Regions from separate parts of the Homo sapiens genome. Here regions 1, 2, 3, 4, 6 and 7 are each linked to region 5. Evidence: promoter capture Hi-C in 16 types of primary human blood cells and fetal thymus (Javierre and others, 2016). All regions are on one chromosome and are shown on one strand. Each heading gives the region's core, a stretch centred on a gene start or on the middle of the fragment in contact. The rest is flanking DNA. Distances are from core to core; before and after follow the strand shown.

Region 1 (3,043 bases), core at 146-2,645, 1.5 Mb before region 5:
AAAGCTAGGCCCTCAACAGCGTACAGAGGAGGTGTATCTTAATGAAGTAAATCGCAATTCAAAACTGCACGGTTTCCCGCTGGCAAAACTGACTTAGTGAAGGTCAGAAAGAACTCCAGGCCAATGAAAATTTTAATACAGAGGTGAAAGCGAAGGTGCCCAATTCAAAAGCGGGACGAAAGTAAGAGGAACGGTCTAAGAAAAGTGAGTTGGAGGAGAGATGAGCAGCAGCGGTCAAACGTGCTCTCCCCGCCGGGTACGTCAAGGCGGCAACTTTTCCAGCACTCCGGAACTCCGGACTGCCCAGGCCTCGGGCGAGCTGGCACGGCTCGCGTCCCGGGGAGGGACCCCAAAGGCGGGGAAGCGGGTTACCCCGCAAACCAGCAAGCTCGACAGGGAGCAAGCTGGACGGGGGCGGGACCTGGACACACACCCTTTCCTCTCTGAGAAGGAAGCGGGGAGGGAGAACGGAGTGCGCGACCCTGGGGCCACCAGCCCTCACGCGGGCCTGCAGGGGCGTTGGGGGAGGGGGAAGACAGTGCAGCTCCGAGGGGTTCGTCCAGAACCGGCCTAACCGCCGCGGAGCCCAAGGCTGGCGGGGGGAATGGAGCGGGCCTCGCCGAGGGCAGGCGGGAAACGGGGTGGCGGGAAGACCAGAGGCCGGCCCAGCTCCAACGCCGCACAGGAGGCCCCGACCCTGCCCTGCCTTCGGCGGGCCCCGGGATCGCCACAACGGGCCCCCAGCCTCCCAGAGGGACGGGGTGGGAGCCGAGGAAGCCCCCACCCCGACACGCAGACACACAAGCCCGCTCGCCGCCCTACCCCCACCCTCGCGCCGCGCTCGCGGGCTCTGCGCCCCACAGCGGCGCGGGGGAGGCGGGGGCCAGCGACGCGGCCGCGGGGAGCTGATGCCCTCCCCGACGCCCGGACCTCGACACGCAGACAAGATCAACAAAGCATCGCCGCTCCCGAGATAAAACATGCCACAGGCCCCGACCAGGGACTCTACGACGCGTGGCTGCCCGGGGCGCAGGGCTGCGCGGACGGGCTGGGGGAAGGGGGTGGGGAAGGGCCTCGCGGGGTGGCTCCCCGGTCCGGGAGCCTCGCCTCCGCCGGGATGCGGTGCTGCAGGGACCCCCACGCTGACCTTGGAGTCTCCGTTGCACAGAGCCATCGGGGCCAGGGCCGGAGCCGCGGCGGTGACGGCGACAGTACGAGACGGGGCGGGAGGGTGCCGGAAGGGTCGGCGCCGCGGGCTGAGGTTGAGAAGGAGGCCTGGTCGAGGAGCAGCCGGCAGCGGAGAGGAGCCAGCCGCCAGAAAAGCGCCGAATGGAGCAACAGCAGCGGAGCGCGGGCCCCAGCGCCGCGGGAGAGAAGACCAGCAGCGCGCACGCTGCCCCCGCCTCCTGCTTCCGCCCCGGCCGGCCACTGGGAGGAGCCAGAGCCCGTTCGGCTTGGCAGCCGAGCCTCAGATACCCTCCGCAGCCGCCGCCAAACCGGCCGGCCCTCGAGAGGAGGGGCTCGCGGCGCCCGGCCCCGCCCCCAGCCCGGTCCCCGCCGGCAAAGCCGGCCGGGTCTCCCGCGGCCCGCCCTTGGGAGGAGGAGCCCGCGGCATCCACCGGCTCCGCCCCTCCTGCCCTCGCACCGAGGAGCCCGCCCCGGAGGAGGGGCCTGTGGCGCCGGCCAGGAGAAAAACCGAAGCCGAATCCGAGCTAGTTTGCTGCTGCCGGATTTGCCTGCTACCTTGGATGACTTCGGGAGGCTGGCGGCACCGAAGAGGCCTCCTGAGAGCTGGGCCCCTGGCGGAACTCTTAGCCGGTGGCGTGGCCTTATCTCAGGTTGCTGGACATGAAGGAGGCCAAGGCTGCTTTGGAAAGTTCCGTGGCCATATCTCAAGGATGTCATTGTAGGAACTGATCACTTAGATACTTCAAAAGTTATACAGCTCCCCACAAATACAGCAGGTGCAGTATTTCCAAAGAAAAGGGAGTTTGGGAGTGGTAATCTGGTGAGCAGCTGGCCCAGGGAACTGGTCGTGAAGCTCTGTTTGCACAACAGTGTTTTTATTGGAATTGTTTGTGGGGAAGGGGCTGCAGTCCCTCCACCTACCCCTTGGCAACCATCATGATGATGAGGTGTTACTTTGAATTTGGTTACCTAGAGGCCTAAATCGAGATTGGGGTATAAAGAATAATACTTGAGATGGCTTCCAGCTAACAAAGCCTTTCCACAAATATTTTTATTATAATACAGCCAACATTTTGCTGCAGTCATTCTTGTGTCAGACTGTAGCTAGGGTATTAAGGAGCCAGAGTGAGAAAATACTTTAAAAGCTAACTTTAACCAATCCCGTGAAAGTAGTAAGGTAGGATTGATGTTCTTATCCTTTTTACAAATGAGGAAATTGAGGCTTAGTGAGATAATGTGCCTCTCAGTATATATAGAATGTAAGGCCTGCCCAATCTGGGAAAGTGTAGACAGTTTATTAGTGAAATATTTACAAAAACGAAAGGCTTAAGGTCCTAGTGGGCCTGAGACTTAAGTATTTCGCTTACCTTTTTTTGAACGGAAAATTGAATATTTGAACTCTCCAAAGCCATGGATACTGGCTTCTCTGGGTAGGTCTGTATGCACAATCTAAAGAAGAGTGCAGTAACCAATAGGAGAACCTCAACTTACATAAACATCCACCCCTAATGGAGTGGAATGTGATGTGATATACTGGCATTAAGGATTGGCTAAGTCCCATCTATCTTAAACAATGCTTAGTTTAAATATATTCTAGGCTGGGCGTGGTGGCTCACACCTGTAATCCCAGCACTTTGGGAGGCCTAGGCGGGTGGATTACCTGAGGTCAGAGTTCCAGAACAGGCTGGCCAACATCATGAAACCTGTCTCTACTAAAAATACAAAAATTAGCCAGGCGTGGTGGCATGCGCCTATAATCCCAGCTACTCGGGAGGCTGAGGCAGGAGAATCGCTTGAACCCGGGAGGTGGAGGTTGCAGGGAGCCAAGATCATGCCATTGCACACCAGCCTGGGT
Region 2 (2,777 bases), core at 80-2,579, 1.5 Mb before region 5:
TTGTTGGGAAAACCAAGTGATTTATTCTATAGTATATTCCACATTCTGGGTTTGTCTCCTACACTATTCTTGGTTATAAAAATCTTCAGTTCAACCTTACTGTCATAGGAAGTTGGGTACTAATTTATTCTTTTTTTTTTTTTTTTTTTTTTTTTGACAGAGTCAGGTTCTCGCTCTGTCACCCAGGCTGGAGTGTAGTGGTGCTATTATGGCTCACTGTAACCTTAAACTCCTGGGCTCAAGTGACCCTCCTGTTCTGTGTTACCATGCCCAGCTGATTTTTACATTTTTTTGTGGAGATGGTATCTTGCTATTGTTGCCCAGGCTGGTCTCAAACTTCTGGCCTCAAGTAACCCTCCAACCTAAGCCTCCCAAAGTGCTGGGATTATAGGCATAAGCCATCGTGCCTGGCTTTTCCTTCTGTTATGTGAGCCTCTTAACTAGCCATAATTATGAACAAAGCTTATGGTATTGTTAACGTGGAAAAAATAGGCATAAAGTGTTGATTGATTCCAGGATATCACCTAAGTGTTAGGGATTGTAGTACAGTCCTAATGTTGGCCTTTTTTTCGTTTTTCTTTTTTAAATGTGCCTTTTCTCCTACAAGATAAAAAAATGATAGTAAAAAAACCTGGTTGGTTAAGGTTCTAACTTAATTTGACTGAGCTTTGTTTAAGTTTTCCCGTCAGTATATGCATGAATAGATTGTACTTATGTGGAACAAGCTAGAGACTGTTTAACCAGATTTGTGTGGTGCCAGGCATAGATAGATACTCAATGTCTTTTGATGAATTGTGTCATATTTTGAGGTTATAAGCTTTTAGAAGTTAGGAGTCTGTTTAATGTCTTTATGTGGTTGGCTTGAAAATGGTGAATAATGATTTGTAAATAATGTTTCCATAAACACTTTTGATTAAATCATATTAAAGTAATATAAAATTAGGAACTAAATTTTAAAATGTTCATGGTTATGTACTCTTGTGAAATGTTTTGATAATTTGACATTTTAAATTTTGAGATGACAATAATAATAAGTGGTTATATTTTTCTCCCTGTAAATCAATAGACATCAAAATTTACAAGCTCTTCGGATATTCCAGTAGAATTTATAAGAAGAAATGTTAAACTACGTGGACGATTACGCCGAATAACTGAGAATGGTTTAGAAATTGAACATATACCTATTACTTTACCTATTATAGCTTCATTGAGAAGTAAGTAAGGTACAAGATTAATGAAACTAACTATTGTGGTCTTCTTTTATTAGAAGTTATTTATAAAATAGCAAAAAAAAGTCATTTTAATTCCTAATAACTCTCCATTGTCCATGAGAAAGTCTCAATTCTTGGCTTTATATATAAGGAGGTGGGAGGTGCTTAATTTGGCTCAGATTTCCTTTCTTCTTTCGTTCCTTTTTTTTTTTTTTGAGACAGAGTTTCACTTTTGTTGCCAGGCTGGAGTGCAATGGTGCAATTTCGGCTCACTGCAACCTCCGCCTCCCAGGTTCAAGCAATTCTCCTGCCTCAGCCTCCTGAGTAGCTAGGATTACAGTCATGCACCACCACGCCCAGCTAATTTTGTATTTTTAGTAGAGATGGGGTTTCTCCATGTTGGTCAGGCTGGTCTTGGACTTCTGACTTCAGGTGATCCGCCCACCTCGGCCTCCAAAAGTGCTGGGATTACAGGCCTGAGCCACCACACCCTGCCCCTTCACTGCTTTTTAAATTGAACTATTCAATCATTCATTCATTTCACAAATGTTGAGCACCTATTATGGTCTAGAACCTAAGCTAATTGTACAATGTTGGGTAAAACAAAGCTCTTTTAACCCTTGAAGCTTATAGTCTAGGTGCGAGATAGACAACAAACAAATGAAAAGTTGTCCTAAGAGCTATGAAGAAAAGGAGCAGGATACTAGGATAATTCTGGGTGGTCTTGGGGATGGCAGTATGGAATCTATACATATAGAGTAGTCAGAGAAGGCCTCATTGAGGAGTTGTTATTTAATCAGGGACCTGAAGAATTAAGAGGAGGCTAGCTAGAAAGAGGATAGGTGAGAAAGAGCATGATGCTTTTGACAAGACATACCAAGACTCCTGTGATTGAGGCACAGGGAGGAAGGGTGTAAGACAGGGGTATCCAATCTTTTGGCTTCCCTGGGCCACATTGGAAGAAGAAAAATTTTCTTGGGCCACACATTAAATACACTAATGATAGCTGATGAGCTAAAAAAAAAAAAAAAAAAAAAGCAAAACAATATCATAACGTTTTAAGAAAGTTTACAAATTTGTGTTGGGACATATTCAAAGCCATCCTGGGCTGCATGTGGCCCACAGGCTGCAGACTGGACAGGTTTGGTGTAAGATGCCACTTTCCTGCTGCAATTCCCATTTCTCCTTGCTTCACATCAAAGCACCCAGACACACAGACCTTCCTGCTGCTTATATGCATTCTCATAACCCTGGGCCTGGTTCTTTGCTTGGAGTATCTTGGCCTCTGTTGAACATCAATTGATTCTTCAGAATCTGGCTCAACTGTCAGCTCTTCTGTGAAGCCTCCTTAACTGCCAAGCTGCATTAGCCTCTTTCTTTGCTATACCCCACAACAATTTATAATACACTGCAATTATAGTACTTATTCACCTTTTTCTGCTATTATGTATTTAGGTTTATATTCCTTACTGAACTGTGAGCCCCTGATGGGCAAGGAGTTTTTCCTTTTTATTTTGGTATTCAAAGTCCCTAGAAAAAGACTTATTAGCCAATAGAGACTTGGTA
Region 3 (3,139 bases), core at 613-3,112, 1.5 Mb before region 5:
CACCCACGAAGACTTCAGACCCCACGTGATTACATCACTCAACCACCAGCGCTGGCCTGGAGGAACCCGCTGTCACGTGACCGCTCGTGCCCAATGACCGAGGCCCACGCTTTCCAGACCGCCACAGTCGCTGTCACAGGGCCTGAGTTTGGGCGGCGCCCCGCCCCGGCCGCACGGTGCGCCGGCGTTAATCCTCCCCGAAGGTTCCGGCAGCCAAGATTGCAGGTTCCCACCAAGCATTGTTTCCGAACTGGGCCACGAGAGCGTGTCCCTGATTGGCTTGCTCTGGAGGCTGGGAAGGGACCTGTTAGAGACTGGGACCACTTCCTGAAGCGCGAGGCAGGAAGTTATATGCTTTTTCTGGAGTCCTGTAGAGAAAGTGCTCTCTGCCGCATTGATAGCAGCGAGAGCTGGAGGTGTTGGGTCGGGAGACCAGCCGTTCGATCCCGCCGCAGGTAGGAGCTGGTTTCCATCCTGGCACCACGGCACACACCTCCAGCCTCGAGCCCGGCGCTGCTGCCCGGGGGTCTCCTTCAGGCTCTTTGACGCCGTTCCAGGGGGCACCTATCCAGGCATCCTCTGGGCCTCTAGCCAGAGGACTGGCTCCCGGCTTCAGCACTCCGGGCTGCAGTAAGAAGTGCCCTTATCGCTCTGAGCCCTGCCACCATCCCGTGAACCACCGAAACCCTGGTCCAGCGCGACAGCCTTGGACCTGGGACTGGACGGATCCAAAACGCTCAGCCTCGGCCCCCCACAGACGGGGCTCTGCATCGTCTCTGATATGTCACCCACCATCTCCCACAAGGACAGCAGCCGGCAACGGCGGCCAGGGAATTTCAGTCACTCTCTGGATATGAAGAGCGGTCCCCTGCCGCCAGGCGGTTGGGATGACAGTCATTTGGACTCAGCGGGCCGGGAAGGGGACAGAGAAGCTCTTCTGGGGGATACCGGCACTGGCGACTTCTTAAAAGCCCCACAGAGCTTCCGGGCCGAACTAAGCAGCATTTTGCTACTACTCTTTCTTTACGTGCTTCAGGGTATTCCCCTGGGCTTGGCGGGAAGCATCCCACTCATTTTGCAAAGCAAAAATGTTAGCTATACAGACCAAGCTTTCTTCAGTTTTGTCTTTTGGCCCTTCAGTCTCAAATTACTCTGGGCCCCGTTGGTTGATGCGGTCTACGTTAAGAACTTCGGTCGTCGCAAATCTTGGCTTGTCCCGACACAGTATATACTAGGACTCTTCATGATCTATTTATCCACTCAGGTGGACCGTTTGCTTGGGAATACCGATGACAGAACACCCGACGTGATTGCTCTCACTGTGGCGTTCTTTTTGTTTGAATTCTTGGCCGCCACTCAGGACATTGCCGTCGATGGTTGGGCGTTAACTATGTTATCCAGGGAAAATGTGGGTTATGCTTCTACTTGCAATTCGGTGGGCCAAACAGCGGGTTACTTTTTGGGCAATGTTTTGTTTTTGGCCCTTGAATCTGCCGACTTTTGTAACAAATATTTGCGGTTTCAGCCTCAACCCAGAGGAATCGTTACTCTTTCAGGTAGTGTATTTAAGCTATTATGGTGTTAGGTTTATTTATCCTTTTGAAAGAGTGTGTGACGTTGGAGGGAAGCTCATTAATTTACTGGAAATCATTGTATGGGAGATAACTCAAGGTAAGTTTTCTGTTTCGTCCAAATGAGCTTCTTTGAAATATTAAAGCCAAAATGAATGATATTAGAGCAATCAAATGATCACTATGCGGTTAACAGGGAGAGGCAACCCATCAAATAACACAACCGAGTCCAGGGATTCATGCCACTTGCTTAATACACAAATGCACACTTTTAAAAAGTGTGGCTCATATGGTTCACATTTTTCCTTTTGTCTTGTTGGTTTTAGGTTTCTAGCTCTATACTTTCTAATCCATTTCTACCCCTACCGTTGTACCCAGAATCCAGCCTTCTAGTGAATGGAACAGGGTTTATTCGTTCAAACATTATTGAACCAGCTAAGGGACGGGATTCTAAGGCCTCTAATGAATAAGGCAGAGTTCTGCACTCAAGAAATAAGGAAGATGAACATTTTAGGAGAGTTCAGAGTTGCCAGTTAGTAACTGCCTTTGGGAGTCAGGCTTCACATTGCAGATAACATTTGACTTTGTTCTTGAATAAGATTCCACGAGGCCAGGAAATGGCACACCAGAATGCACAACACAAAGTAAAAGTGCACTGAGGCAGGAAAGTACAAAAAAGTACAGGACATTGCCTAAATTGTGGAACTGGGTTTGGGAAATCGTGCTGAGAAAGGCTGTGACTAAATTAGTAAGATTTTCTTTAATTACTATGGGAAAAGAGTTTAAAGTTTGTCCTGTAAGTAATGGAGGGTAAGTTCTAAAAAATTTCCCTGTTTCTCTGCATGAGTAAAACACATGTAAGTTTTTCTCTTTTTTCTTTTTTCTTCTTTTTTTTAATTGAGATAGTTGGGGGTCGGGGGGGCTGTCTCACTATGTTGGCCAGGCTGGTCTTGAACTCCTGGCCTCAGGTGATTCTCCCCCTCCTTGGCCTCCCAAAGTACTGGGAATTATAAGTGTGAACCACCCCACCTGGCCTAAGCTTTTTTGTTTGTTTGTTTGTTTTTAACTTTTGTAACAACTAGAAAACAAGTAAAATGACCAATATCAGGAATAACAATGTCAGGAATATAGTGAAATTCTTCATTCTGTCAGTGATGATGAATTTAGGGGATTCTGTTTTGAAATTTAAGCAACTGAACTTCTCAGCTTCTGTGCTACCTTGGAAATTCACAGTAGAGTAAATGTCCAGGTATGTGGTGGTGGTAGGAGGTGTCACAACTACACTATTTTCCTGCAATCTTATTCTCACAGACATCTAACCTTATGTACACCTCCTCAAACTGCTAATGAGTGAGCCACTATTACTGGTGAAATGATGGTGATAGTACTTTTTCCTCAGTTGTTTGGTTGAGAGATAATTGCTTTGCACCCAGGTAGATTTGTCTCAGTGTTCTGGGGTTCCACTCCTGCTTTATGAATAATTCACTGCTGGCCGGGCACAGTGGCTCACACCTGTAATCCCAGCACTTTGGGAGGCTGAGGTGGGAGGATCACTTGAGGTCAGGAGT
Region 4 (2,767 bases), core at 40-2,539, 1.6 Mb before region 5:
TGCCCAAAATAAGCAAATCTATAGAGACAGAAAATAAATTAGTGGTTGGTAATTGCCTAGGGCTGGCAAGAAAGGAGGAAAGGAGGAGCTGGGGGGTGGGGGCAGGATGACAATGACAACAACAGGTAGAACGAGGAGTGACTGCTAATGGGTATAAGGTTCCTTTTTAGGGTAAGGAAAATGTTCTAAAATTAGATGTGGTGATGGTTATGCAATTCTGTGAATATTAGAGGGAAGAGGAGGGAAGAATGGAAGACTTTCCATGTATCTACTTTATGAAAAAGTTTTCATAAACTTTTACCTCCTCTCTCAACTTTCTGATGAGCTCTGTGTCATTGTGATGGGTTTTGATGAGTTCAGCTTTGCCACTTGCAACAAGGGATGCACTTTCAATTAGATCAGGCCGTAAAGTACCTTGGGCAAGGAAAACCTCCTCTGGTTTCAAGTTCATTTCTCCAATTACTTCATTGGCAATCTATAATCAACAGGAGTAAAACAGCCTTGTAAGAGATAACTTTTTTTAAAAGCAAAAGTTTATACTTTCAGCTAAATCTCTTAGAGTCCTTTAGAAATACTGATCAGAAAATAAAATCCACCAATCTCCAAAATAAACTCCTTAATGAACATGTCCTCTAACACGATTCAAAAAGGTACATGAGGCCAAACACAGTGGCTCACGCCTGTAATCCCAGCACTTTGGGAGGCTGAGTGGGGTGGATCACTTGAGGCCAGGAGTTCGAGACCAGCCTGGCCAACATGATGAAACACCATCTCTACTAAATATACAAAATTAGTGGCCAGGTGTGGTGGCTCACGCCTGTAATCCCAGCACTTTGGGAGGCAAGGCAGGCAGATCACAAGGTCAGGAGTTTGAGACCAGCCTGACTAACATGGTGAAACCCCGTCTCTACTAAAAATACAAAAACTAGCCGGGCATGGTGGCACACGCCTGTAATCCCAGCTACTCAGGAAGTTGAGGCAGGAGAATCGCTTGAACCCTGGAGGCAAAGTTTGCAGTGAGCCAAGATTGCACCACTACACTCCAGCCTGGGCGGCAGAGTGAGACTCCATCTCAAAAAAAGAAAAAAATTAGCTGGGCATGGTGGTGCATGCCTGTAATCCCAGCTACTCGGGAGGCTGAGGCAGGAGAATCGCTTGAACCCAGCAGGTGAAAGTTGCCGTGAGCCAAGATCGCTCCATTGTACTCCAGCCTGAGTGACAAGAACAAAACTCCGCCTCCAAAAAAAAAAAAAAACAAAAACAAAGGTATGTGAACATTCCATTCAAGAGCTTGAAATTAGCCATTGAGATAATCAATGAATTAAAGTCTATGATAAGCTGAATACATCTACTCTTAAAGACATCTATTCTTAAAATAATAGCCTGGCAATGTAGGCAAACATGTTTATTAAAACATAAAACAGTTGGCTGGGCATAGTGGCTCACACCTGTAATCCCAGAAGTTCGGGAGGCTGAGGCGGGCGGATCATGAGGTCAGGAGATCCGGACCAACCTGGCCAACATGGTGAAACCCCCGTCTCTACTAAAAGTACAAAAATTAGCTGGGCATGATGGTGCACCCCTGTAGTCCCAGCTACTTAGGAGGCTGAGGCAGGAGAATCACTTGAACCCAGAAGGCAGAGGTTGCAGCGAGCCGAGATCGTGCAACTGCACTCCAGCCCAGCCTGGTGACACAGCAAGACTCTGTCTCAAAAAAACAAAAAAAAAACCAAACAACAACAAAAAAACATAAAACAGTTTCTACTGGTCAATATAATGACAATATACAATAAAACTCTCAGCCACATAAGAAAAAGGATTAAAATTAGCTAATTTGGTTATTTGATATAGTGACAAGGAAAAACAAATACTAAGATTCACATCAAAAATAGTACATGTTGAGGATATTAAAAACAAAGGTACCTTAACAAAAGTATCCCCAATGATTTTTCTTTTCTCTTCAGGACTTGTGGTCATATTTAACGTTTTGCTAATTCTTTTCCGTGGGGTTCTATCTTCATCTGATATTGGTAGGGTTGTTGTTCCATTGTAGAAAGAATGAGCAGCATTTATCACTGGAGGAAAGGGGAGAAGCGTTTTAAATTGGTATAACATGTTTTTTAATCAAAAATAACAAGTCAAAATACAGAAAGAAAAGCTATTTCTTTCCCAGTCTGAAGAGCAGTCCTTTGATCTCCCCTAAATCTGCCTACAAATTTCAATAAACTATCAATATTCAAGAATTATTGGCCGGGCCCGGTGGCTCATGCCTATAATCCCAGCACTTTGGGAGGCCGAGACAGGTGGATCACGAGGTCAGGAGATCAAGACCATCCTGGCTAACATGGTGAAATCCCATCACTACTAAAAATACAAAAAATTAGCTGGGTGTGGTGACGGGTGCCTGTAGTCCCAGCTACTTGGGAAGCCGAGGCAGGAGAATGGTGTGAACCCGGGAGGCGGAGCTTGCAGTGAGCAGAGATTGTGCCACTGCACTCCAGCCTGGGTGACAGAGAGAGACTCCATCCCCAAAAAAAAAATAAGAAAAGAAAAAGAACTATCAATAAATCCTGAGTAACAGAATTCAGATACAGGCACTCATTAAATTTTGTTTCTGTGAGAATCTCCTGGCATTTAGATCTAGGGCCATGACATCACAAATTATGCTGATTAGGGCCGGCACGGTGGCTCACACCTGTAATACCAGCACTTTGGGAGGCCAAGTTGGGTGGATCACTTGAGGTCAGCAGTGTGAGACCAGCCTGGC
Region 5 (3,153 bases), core at 304-2,803:
TTCTTTAAGTGGCACATAAGTTTTCCATAATCAGACCCCTATCTACCTCTTTGGCCTTCCCCATCAGGCTTTAAGATTCAGGGTAGTTGTTTTAAGTTCTCCGATGTCTCACATCATTATCTGTCTTTACACATTGTTCCTTTCACCTGCCATACTTTTCTTCTGCCCATTAGTCTGGCAAAAGTCTACTTATCTCAAAAGTTGTTGCATAACTCACCTAACTCCAAAATTAAATTCTTTTGCTGTAGTATCTCTTGGCTCTTAGGGAGGAAATACTTTTTGTCTACTTTCTTAGATTCAGTGTTTGCAGGCCCCAGACTTAAAGTGACAAAACAGATTAGCAAAAGAAAAGACAGACTTAACCACATACATAATAGAGTTCACAGAAAAAGGTGATTCAGGGAGGTAGAGTTCTGACTTATCTACCATCTTATAAAGGGAAGGAAAGGGGAAAACAGCACGTATGGAAAAAACAAATGACTTTTAGTAAAAATAAATGACACCTTAAAACAGATGCCAGATATGATAGCTTTGTGACAATGTCTATTCAAGTGTGTTGCCAGCTTCTAACCTCCAGTGATAAGAGTCAGTCTTCCTGGGTTTCCCTCCCAGGGAGGAGCTTGATTTGAATTCCTCCGTGTGGTTCTGCATTTAGACAGGTAGATTTCAGAAACTCAAATGTCTTTGCTCAAAATAATTTTTAGGCCACAATGGTGTATTGTAGACCCCTTCCTGGCATACAGCATTTCCCTTTCTTAATTCACTGCACAAAGATAGCCTTTGTCTTTCCCTTAAGACTGTAGGCAAATAAAAGCTCATGCCATACTTGCTTTGTTCAGTGAGTATTCCCAGCACCTTTACATCAGTTAACTGTAACATGAGCTGGATATCTCCTGGTGTACATCCAAGCCTGTGTGGCCCAATTACTTGATTATTCAAGAACAGCTTGTACAAAACACTCAGTGTGCTGGTTAATAAACAGTATGTGGCTTCATATGAACACATGAATCTTCAAAGTAGTTTATTTACATTGCCTAAGAGCTCTGCACCGAATTTGGGTAGACACGCTCATCTTAACACTATTGGATAAACGTACTAAATAGTGACAACACTTTCAAGGAGGTAAGGGGATTTTAAATTACATATTTGAATAGTTGTCAGGCTGTTTTCAAGACTAGAAGAACTCATTTTTTAGAGACTTTTCTTTAGAAGACGGCGAATTGATCCAAGGGTTCTTTTGTTTCAATCAACGTTTACTACCCTAGGACCTAAGTGCAAAAAAACTGCGGATTTACCAGGAATAAGAAAGTAAAAACCAAAAGCTATTGGCTCACTTGCTGGGCCTAGGGAAAGAAAATCTACGAGCCTTTGGCTGGCTGTTGCTCCAGAGGTACAAAGATAAACAACTCGGGGGCTCAGACAGAACCTGATCCCTGCCACCCTCCAGACCACCGGGGTCGTCCTCCCGTGACGTCACCAGAAACCACTGCTTGTGACGCTAAATGGCCCGCCCTCTTGTGCGGTGCTACGGAAGCAAAACGGAAGTGGGCGCACAGTGGCTTCCGGGCCCGGACGCCATTTCCAGCGGTTGCTGGTTCTGACGGGTTGTAGTCTGCCAGGACAATGAGTTATGACTACCATCAGAACTGGGGCCGTGATGGGGGTCCCCGCAGCTCCGGTGGGGGCTATGGAGGGGGGCCAGCAGGGGGTCATGGAGGTAACCGAGGCTCCGGAGGAGGCGGCGGCGGCGGAGGGGGTGGTCGAGGCGGCAGGGGCCGGCATCCCGGGCACCTGAAAGGCCGCGAAATCGGCATGTGGTACGCGAAAAAACAGGGGCAGAAGAACAAGGAAGCGGAGAGGCAAGAGGTAATCTCGGATTCAGTAGTGGAGAGGATGAGGCAGCACAGGTTTTCTTCTCTCTCCCGCTGCCCCCTTTTTCTTGGTTTTGTTTCTTAAGTGATGCACGTGTTTTGTGAAATGTAAATGAGGCGCAAATATATTATGCTGGCGCTCCCCGTAGCGGGTGTACTGCGTAACATTAGCCATGCTCATCTGACCAAAAACAGGCAGGATTTATGCAGGCTGAATATATACTTTGCTTAAAGGACTTGAGAACTGTGACAAAGCAAATGTTAAGTTCACGTTCCAACCGAAATTAACTTTATTAGGAGTGTCGTTGTCGTATCTCTGGCCGTCCTTTCCCTTAGAATAATAATTGTCACTTTAAGGTCTTTGCCTGGTGAAGAAGCACATAGCGACCTTTCTACATTTGAGATAGGTTTGCGCGGAACAAAAGCAGGCAGACACTGTTTTGGATGTGGATCATTCAGAAAAATAGTCCAGCTTTTATTATTAGTGTTAAAATTATCTGCAAACCTAGGTTTTTGTTTTTTATGTTGGGGTGGAGAAATTTCTATTGATGAGCAGATTCTCTTTGAAAAGGAAAATGAAAGGAATCTCCAGAGATGATTTGGCTTACTCTCCTCTCTTCAGGTGATTGTCAGGTTGATTTGTGTCTTAAAGATCTGTAGTAAGGGAAACAAAGTTCTCCGAGTGACTAGTAAATAAAATTCTAATAAAAAATAATTTTTATCATTAAGCAGGAACTTTCTTAGTATAGGCCTTTGGTGACTTTTTAAAAGCACCTTATAAAATGTATTATAGAGTGTAATTAGATCATCATTTAGGCAACTTTTTTTTTTTTTAAGACAGGGTCTCACTCTGTCGCCCAGGCTGGAGTGCAGTGGCACGATCTTAGCTCACTGCAACCTCCGCCTCCCAAGTTCAAGCGATTCTCCTGCTTCAGCCTCCCGAGTAGCTGGGATTACAGGCGTCCGCCACCACCTCCGGCTAATTTTTGTATTTTTAGTAGAGACGGGGTTTCACCATGTTGGCCAGGTTGGTCTCGAACTCCTGACCTCAGGTGATCCACCCAACTCGGCCTCCCAAAGTGCTGGGATTACAGGCGTGAGCCACCACGCCAGGCCTAGACTACTATTTTTAAACCGTTCCATTTCTTTTTATTTCTTTTAACCATGTCATGTTCATTCAGGTGTTTTGGGGGCCTTATCCATTTATCTTCATAATTTAAACTTTTCTTTAAAAAACAAATCCATTTCTTTTACAGCCCCAAATTAACTTTTTCGTTGGGCA
Region 6 (2,804 bases), core at 171-2,670, 1.5 Mb before region 5:
CCACGACTGGCTAATTTTTTGTATTTTTAGTAGAGATGGGGTTTCACTGTGTTAGCCAGGATGGTCTCGATCTCCTGATCTCATGATTCAACCTCCTCAGCCTCCCAAAGTGCTGGGATTACAGGCGTAAGCCACCACGCCCGGCTGTTATTTACTTTCTATTGGCTATAACACAGAGACAATACACTCCTTGAAGCCACCACTCATAATATGTATTGTTAGGAATACAACATAGTCTGTTTTGACTTTTAAAGGTAATATTTGCATAAAGTAAAAAAAAAAAAAAAACTCCAGTAGTATAATTGCACTCTCCAATATAATAGCCACTAGCCATATGTGACTAAATTAATTAAAATTAATAAAGTTAAAAATTCAGTTCCTTGATTTCAGTAGCCACATTTCATGCAGGCAATACCCACATGAAGCTACAGGACATTTCTATCACTGAAAAATGTTTATTAGAGGTGGCAGATTGTGAAACCTCTTGCCCTTTCCTACCTTCCGTTTCCCGGGGTAGTCACTGTTACTAGTTTCTTGTATAGTATTTAGTATTTATTTATTTTTTTAGATGGAGTCTTGCTCTGTTACCCAGGCTGGAGTGTAGTGGCACGATCTTGGCTCACTGCAACCTCCGCTTCCCAGGTTCAAGCGATTCTCCTGCCTCAGCCTCTTGAGTAGCTGGGATTATAGGCGCATACCACCAGGTTCAGCTAATTTTTGTATTTTCAGTAGAGACGGAATTTCGCCATGTGGGCCAGGCTGGTCTCGAACCCCTGACCTCAAGTAATCCGCCCGCCTCGGCCTCCCAAAGTGTTGGTATTACAGGCAGGAGCCACCACACCCGGCCTCAATATATATTTTTATTACATAAATGTTACCATATTATTTGCACTGCTCTGTATCTAATTTTTGTTTTATTTAAAATGTATTAACTACTGTTTTCTAACAGCTCAAAGATTTAGAGCATGTGATATTAGGCTTTCAGAGCAGCTCTTAAAACTTTAAAGCACAATTTGAATATAAGAAATATGCATAGGTTTCAAGGACAGGTCGTATTTGGTTAAAAAATATGCATATGCTGTTCCTTGGGAGCAGGTGGAAGGAATGAATTACTTCAATTTCCTTCCTTGTGTGGCACCTGCGAAAACCACGTTGCAGCTGAGTGAATTGAAGTCACCAGCTGACAATCATCCTACTAGCTTGATAGGGAATGCTTCAGCCCCCACAGTGCTGCTCAGAGATCTCCTGCATCGTGGAATCACCCTGCATAAAAGCGGTTGGGGCACTGTTAAGACGTCTGATATCTGGGGCCCGCCCACTGGCGACTGCAGGTCGCGGGGCCACCCCGGTCCGCGGGGAAGGGGACCCCGCCGCCTTCCCGAGGTGAGCGGCGCCCCCTGCCGCCAGCCGGAGGAGCTCAGGGCCGCTCGCAGGAGGCCGGGAACATGGCGGGGCAGCCCGCGGCCACCGGCTCGCCGTCTGCCGACAAGGACGGAATGGAGCCCAACGTCGTGGCTCGGATCTCGCAGTGGGCAGACGACCACCTGCGCCTAGTCCGGGTACTGGGGCCACGCAGTCTGGGCGGGTGGTGGGCGCGGGGCGGCACAGAGCGACCCTGAGAACAACGTGAGGCCTCAGGCGTGGATCCCGCCGGGGCCGGGGAGCGACAGAAAACTGCGGGGGAATGAGCTCGAGAGGGCGACATCGCGAGTGTCGTGTGTGCGGGGCTGCAGAGGGCCGGGGGCGGGCCAGGGGGCCAGTTCGGCCTCATTATTACAAGGACTGTTCTGGATCCTTGCTGGGCTGTAGGGGGCACCTCAAAGGGTGAGACGCAGCCCAGCTCGGGGATGCCACCTGGTCCATTAGAGCATTTGGGGAGGGCCCAGAGAGGAGACCGAGGAAGAGCAGGGAAGTCCTGTACGCCTTGGGAGAGAGCATTTCTAATTTTTATTTATTTTTAATTTTATTTTTTAGGGACACGGTATTCCTCTCTGGCCCAAGCTGGAGTGCAGTGGCACGATCATAGCTCACTGCTGCTGCTCCACCCACTTCGGCCGAAAAGATCCTCCCACTTCAGCCTCCCGAGTAGCTGGAACCACAGGTTGCGTGCGCTACCCCATCGACTACTTTCTTTTAGAGTTAGAGACTGGGAGTCTTGCTATGTTGTCCAGGCTGTCCTCCAACTCCTGGCCTCAAGTGATCTCCCACCTCAGCCTCCCGAATAGATTTCTTTTTTTTGAGACAGGGTCTCCCTCTGTCACGCCTGGAGTGCAGTGGCACCATTATGTCTCGTTGCAGTCTCCACTTCCTGGGCTTAAGCAATCCTCCCACCTCAGGCTCCCGAGTAGCTAGGGCTACAGGCACTTGTCACCACACCAGGCTAATTTGTTTTTTGTTTGTAGAGGCAAGGTCTTCCTGTGTTGCCCAGGCTGGCCTTGAACTCCTGGTCTCAAGAGATCTGCCCGCCTCGGCCTCCCAAAGCACTGGGATTGTAGGCATCAGCCACTGGTGCCCTGCCTTTTTTTTTTTTTTTTTTTTTAAGTGAAGCACTAAGCCTCTGGAGTTGAAGCAAGAGAGGGACATGTTAGGCCACCAGGCAAGAGAGGGTTGTGGCTAAGACACAGAATTGTGGTGATATGAATTGTTTGGGTGTGAGGTACAAAGAAAGAGGTCCAAGGAGGCTGGTAATAGTTGCTGATAAGGAGAAGGAGTTGGAATAAATGATTTATTGGGGAAAATCTAGAGAACTTTTTGGACACGTACATGGAGATGTGCAAATTTGGAGATCATTATTAGACTTCTAA
Region 7 (2,821 bases), core at 71-2,570, 1.4 Mb before region 5:
AAAAGGTACTTTACTACCATGTAGGATGTTTGTCTTACCTGCCCAAAGAAGTTTTAATGAAGATCTCATTTTCTCCAGTTCCCCTTTAACCAGTGAAAGAGGAGGGTATTATTTGTTTTGTTTTTCTATTTATTCTTTGGTAACCATGGAAGAGTTTGTGTAACCTAGAGAGGCTGCTTATTACCCACTGTCTAATCCCTTTGTTATTATTCCATACTCTGATTGTCACAAGCAGGAAAAATAGTTCTGTCCTGCTTCTAAAAACTTAGCAATGTAACACATTTTCTTGTTTTTAGTGATTTTCTCCAATTAATTAATTAATTGTTTTAGTGATTTTTCTCAGATAAATAATGTTAAAACGACTTGGAGAGAAAAGCTACATTAAAAGATTATGGATGTATAAATGTCCTAAACATTTAAGAACATGCATAATTATGATTCATACCAACTTCAGAATTATTACCTTTGGGAAGGGGTGGGGGTAACGAGTCAGGAGTTGGGGTTTAGCTATATCTGTAATGCTTTATTTAAAAAAGAAGGGCTGGGGGGAGCAGGAGTATTACATGGTATATATCCTGTTTTTGGTAGGTTTGAAATATCACACAATTTAAAAATTTAAAAGTTTACAAAATTATGGGAGTTGATTAAAACTATCAAAATAAAGAATGCATAGCAAACAAGTGCTCTTATTATGAACTTTGTGTCTGAGTTTATTTCAACATGTGCATCTGCATTTTTTCAGACTCAAGAAAGACAAACACCGGAGGTTAGGGGGTGAACTGCTGCTGTTGAGGGATTATCTTGGTGGTTTTTTTTTTTTTTTTTTTTTTTTTGGCTTTTCTATTCACCATGGAGGTTACCAGCAAAACAAATCTCCAACAAGCTTGTTTACAAAATATAAAGCAGTTTGGAGGCAGAGGGTTAATGACTTAATTTCTTATAAATTGAGGCTTGTGTATGGGCATGCAAAAAAACAAAAACAAAAACAAGTAAATTTGGGGAGGTTTCTTTCTATAGAGGCAAAGGACCTTACCTACATTTTTTCCAAATTGATTTCTTCCTGGTACTATTGGCAGGAAGAAATTCAAGTGGGTATTCTGGTGGCTTTTTTCTTTTTTCTGAGAGTCTAGGATTGTTTTCAGGACAAAGTTTCTTCTTGCCCATGGTGCTTTGCTGTGACATTGTAATTGCCTCTGTTGAATTGAATAATACAAATGGGTTGTTTCTATGGTATCGGCTAAGTGGGATGAAAAGGTGAAACCCTAGATCTTGCGCTGAGAGGTCACAGTGCTACCACCCTCCACACTGTCTGTCAAAGAGAACAGGCAGCCAAGGCCCTGAGCTCCAATCTCAGGCACTCATTTGTAACTTACTCGTTTGTAACTTCCTGGGCAAATTCACGCATGAAAAAAGAAAATGACTTTAGTTTATGTTGTCACTAAGCCCAGAAAATCCCTGCCAACCCCATGCTGCCAGCTTTCCTAGGACATTCTTATTGGAGGATTATTTTAAACTGAAAGGTGAGTGAAGAGCTGCGTCCCCACTCCTTCCCAGCCAGGCTTTGAACTAACAATAGGGCAGGTTGAATGAAGGCTGATAAATGTAAATCCTGGAATCCAGAAGCCGGATCACACCGCGGCCGTCTAGGCCAGCGGCGGTTCCAGCATCCGCCCCAAGCTGGTCACTCATCCTTTCAGTGCATTCAGTAGATTTCATCGTTTCATCAACACTTGAGTGCCTGCTTCGTGCAAGCTTTCCTCTGCCACCGCCGCCTTCTTACTCCCGGCAGGTTGCCCGCTTGAGTCAACCAGCCACTAAACGGATCTAAGTGAATAAGTGGCCTGTTAATGCCAAGGAGTAGCATTTCCAAATGAAGAGACTGGGGGTAAATAAAAGCAAAGTGTTACCATTTACACGCTCTCAATTTTAGTTGCACTTCACTCAGAGTAGATCTCTTTAATTTGCGGCATCGACAGATGCTATATTCTTAGAAATTTTTTTTTTTTAAAGGAGGTAAGACGGGCGTTTGAGAACACTTTTTACTTTGGTGCAAGTTGCACGCAGTTCCCATTCACTCAGAGTAGATCTCTTTAATTTGCGGCATCGACAGATGCTATATTCTTAGAAATTTTTTTTTTTTAAAGGAGGTAAGACGGACGTTTGAGAACACTTTTCACTTTGGTGCAAGTTGCACGCAGTTCCCATTCCCTGCGCCCTTCACTTCCAACTTTGTTTCTCCAACTCCTTTACCCCCCACCACCGAGGCCCTCTGGCTACAGCCCCGAGGGGTTACCCTGGGTTTCGAAACTTTTGAAACTTGCGGGGGAGTAAAAGTACTTCATTCCCAGTGCTTCTGGCCCTTGCCAAGCGGGGAGCCCCGCAGGAGAGTGTAAGCCAAGGGTTCCAGGTGCAGCCTTGGGGTTCCACGTGCAGCCCTAGGGTTCCGTACACCCATCCCGCCCGGGCCAGAGGAGGCAGCAGGCGCTCCAGTCCGCTCTCCGCAACTCCAGTTCCTGATTTCCTCGGAAGCTGCGGGGCCGAGAGGGAGGGGGGCTCCTGTGTGAGCGTGAGGATTTGAATGAGAAAGCAGGTTGTGGCGGCGGCGCCCTGCTCTTCCCCGCTCGTCTGGGGCTTCTGCTGGCTAGTGGGGAGAAGTGCTCTTCTAGGGGGGCTTTTCTGGCCCTTGGCAGGGGTTTGGAGTTGGAGTCACAGGGGCCAATAACTCATCACCCCAGCACTTCGGAGGTGGCTCCTTGTGCCACGGACTCCGAGGAGTCCTTCAGCTACTGAACACTCAAAGCTGAGGAGGTCAGTGCTTTCG

The links. Contacts are between HindIII fragments. The CHiCAGO score rates a contact against its expected background, and 5 or more counts as called.
Region 1: the fragment with the promoter of GMPS here is called in contact with the fragment with the promoter of DHX36 in region 5 in 1 of 17 cell types (neutrophils); the score reaches 5.3 in neutrophils.
Region 2: a contact is called between a fragment that was not itself captured here and the fragment with the promoter of DHX36 in region 5, in 1 of 17 cell types (naive CD8 T cells). The highest score is 5.4, in naive CD8 T cells.
Region 3: a fragment that was not itself captured here is called in contact with the fragment with the promoter of DHX36 in region 5 in 7 of 17 cell types (activated CD4 T cells, naive CD4 T cells, non-activated CD4 T cells and 4 more); the score reaches 13.2 in activated CD4 T cells.
Region 4: a fragment that was not itself captured here is called in contact with the fragment with the promoter of DHX36 in region 5 in 1 of 17 cell types (naive CD8 T cells); the score reaches 6.3 in naive CD8 T cells.
Region 6: a contact is called between the fragment with the promoter of C3orf33 here and the fragment with the promoter of DHX36 in region 5, in 2 of 17 cell types (naive CD8 T cells and non-activated CD4 T cells). The highest score is 8.6, in naive CD8 T cells.
Region 7: a fragment that was not itself captured here is called in contact with the fragment with the promoter of DHX36 in region 5 in 4 of 17 cell types (non-activated CD4 T cells, monocytes, activated CD4 T cells and 1 more); the score reaches 7.7 in non-activated CD4 T cells.

Annotation. Positions count from the first base shown.
Region 1 is chr3:155,869,002-155,872,044 of GRCh38, reverse strand. GMPS (guanine monophosphate synthase) reads right to left here and starts at 1,395. Exons shown (of 16, transcript NM_003875.3): 1 at 1,148-1,395. The coding sequence starts at 1,174. RefSeq lists enhancers at 602-1,361, 1,901-1,950 and a silencer at 541-1,760. The HindIII fragment of the contact is 27,854 bases long and covers 1-3,043 here.
Region 2 is chr3:155,774,138-155,776,914 of GRCh38, reverse strand. C3orf33 (chromosome 3 open reading frame 33) reads left to right here. Exons shown (of 5, transcript NM_001308229.2): 3 at 1,067-1,214. Among named protein-coding and RNA genes, the nearest start is that of PLCH1, 30 kb to the right of the region's middle. The HindIII fragment of the contact is 1,020 bases long and covers 820-1,839 here.
Region 3 is chr3:155,851,640-155,854,778 of GRCh38, reverse strand. SLC33A1 (solute carrier family 33 member 1) reads left to right here and starts at 352. Exons shown (of 6, transcript NM_004733.4): 1 at 352-1,556. The coding sequence starts at 782. LOC105374174 (a long non-coding RNA gene) reads right to left here and starts at 26. Exons shown (of 3, transcript XR_924607.4): 1 at 1-26. RefSeq lists enhancers at 1-324, 695-764. The HindIII fragment of the contact is 1,501 bases long and covers 1,112-2,612 here.
Region 4 is chr3:155,913,727-155,916,493 of GRCh38, reverse strand. It overlaps GMPS (guanine monophosphate synthase), which reads right to left. Exons shown (of 16, transcript NM_003875.3): 8 at 1,924-2,075; 9 at 302-475. Among named protein-coding and RNA genes, the nearest start is that of GMPS, 44 kb to the right of the region's middle. The HindIII fragment of the contact is 3,503 bases long and covers 1-2,767 here.
Region 5 is chr3:154,322,887-154,326,039 of GRCh38, reverse strand. DHX36 (DEAH-box helicase 36) reads left to right here and starts at 1,553. Exons shown (of 25, transcript NM_020865.3): 1 at 1,553-1,866. The coding sequence starts at 1,624. RefSeq lists an enhancer at 1,366-1,660. The HindIII fragment of the contact is 15,842 bases long and covers 1-3,153 here.
Region 6 is chr3:155,804,894-155,807,697 of GRCh38, reverse strand. C3orf33 (chromosome 3 open reading frame 33) reads left to right here and starts at 1,420. Exons shown (of 5, transcript NM_001308229.2): 1 at 1,420-1,559. The coding sequence starts at 1,446. RefSeq lists a silencer at 1,136-1,485. The HindIII fragment of the contact is 11,000 bases long and covers 1-2,804 here.
Region 7 is chr3:155,744,827-155,747,647 of GRCh38, reverse strand. PLCH1 (phospholipase C eta 1) reads left to right here and starts at 2,577. Exons shown (of 23, transcript NM_014996.4): 1 at 2,577-2,808. RefSeq lists enhancers at 2,615-2,821, 2,719-2,821. The HindIII fragment of the contact is 869 bases long and covers 886-1,754 here.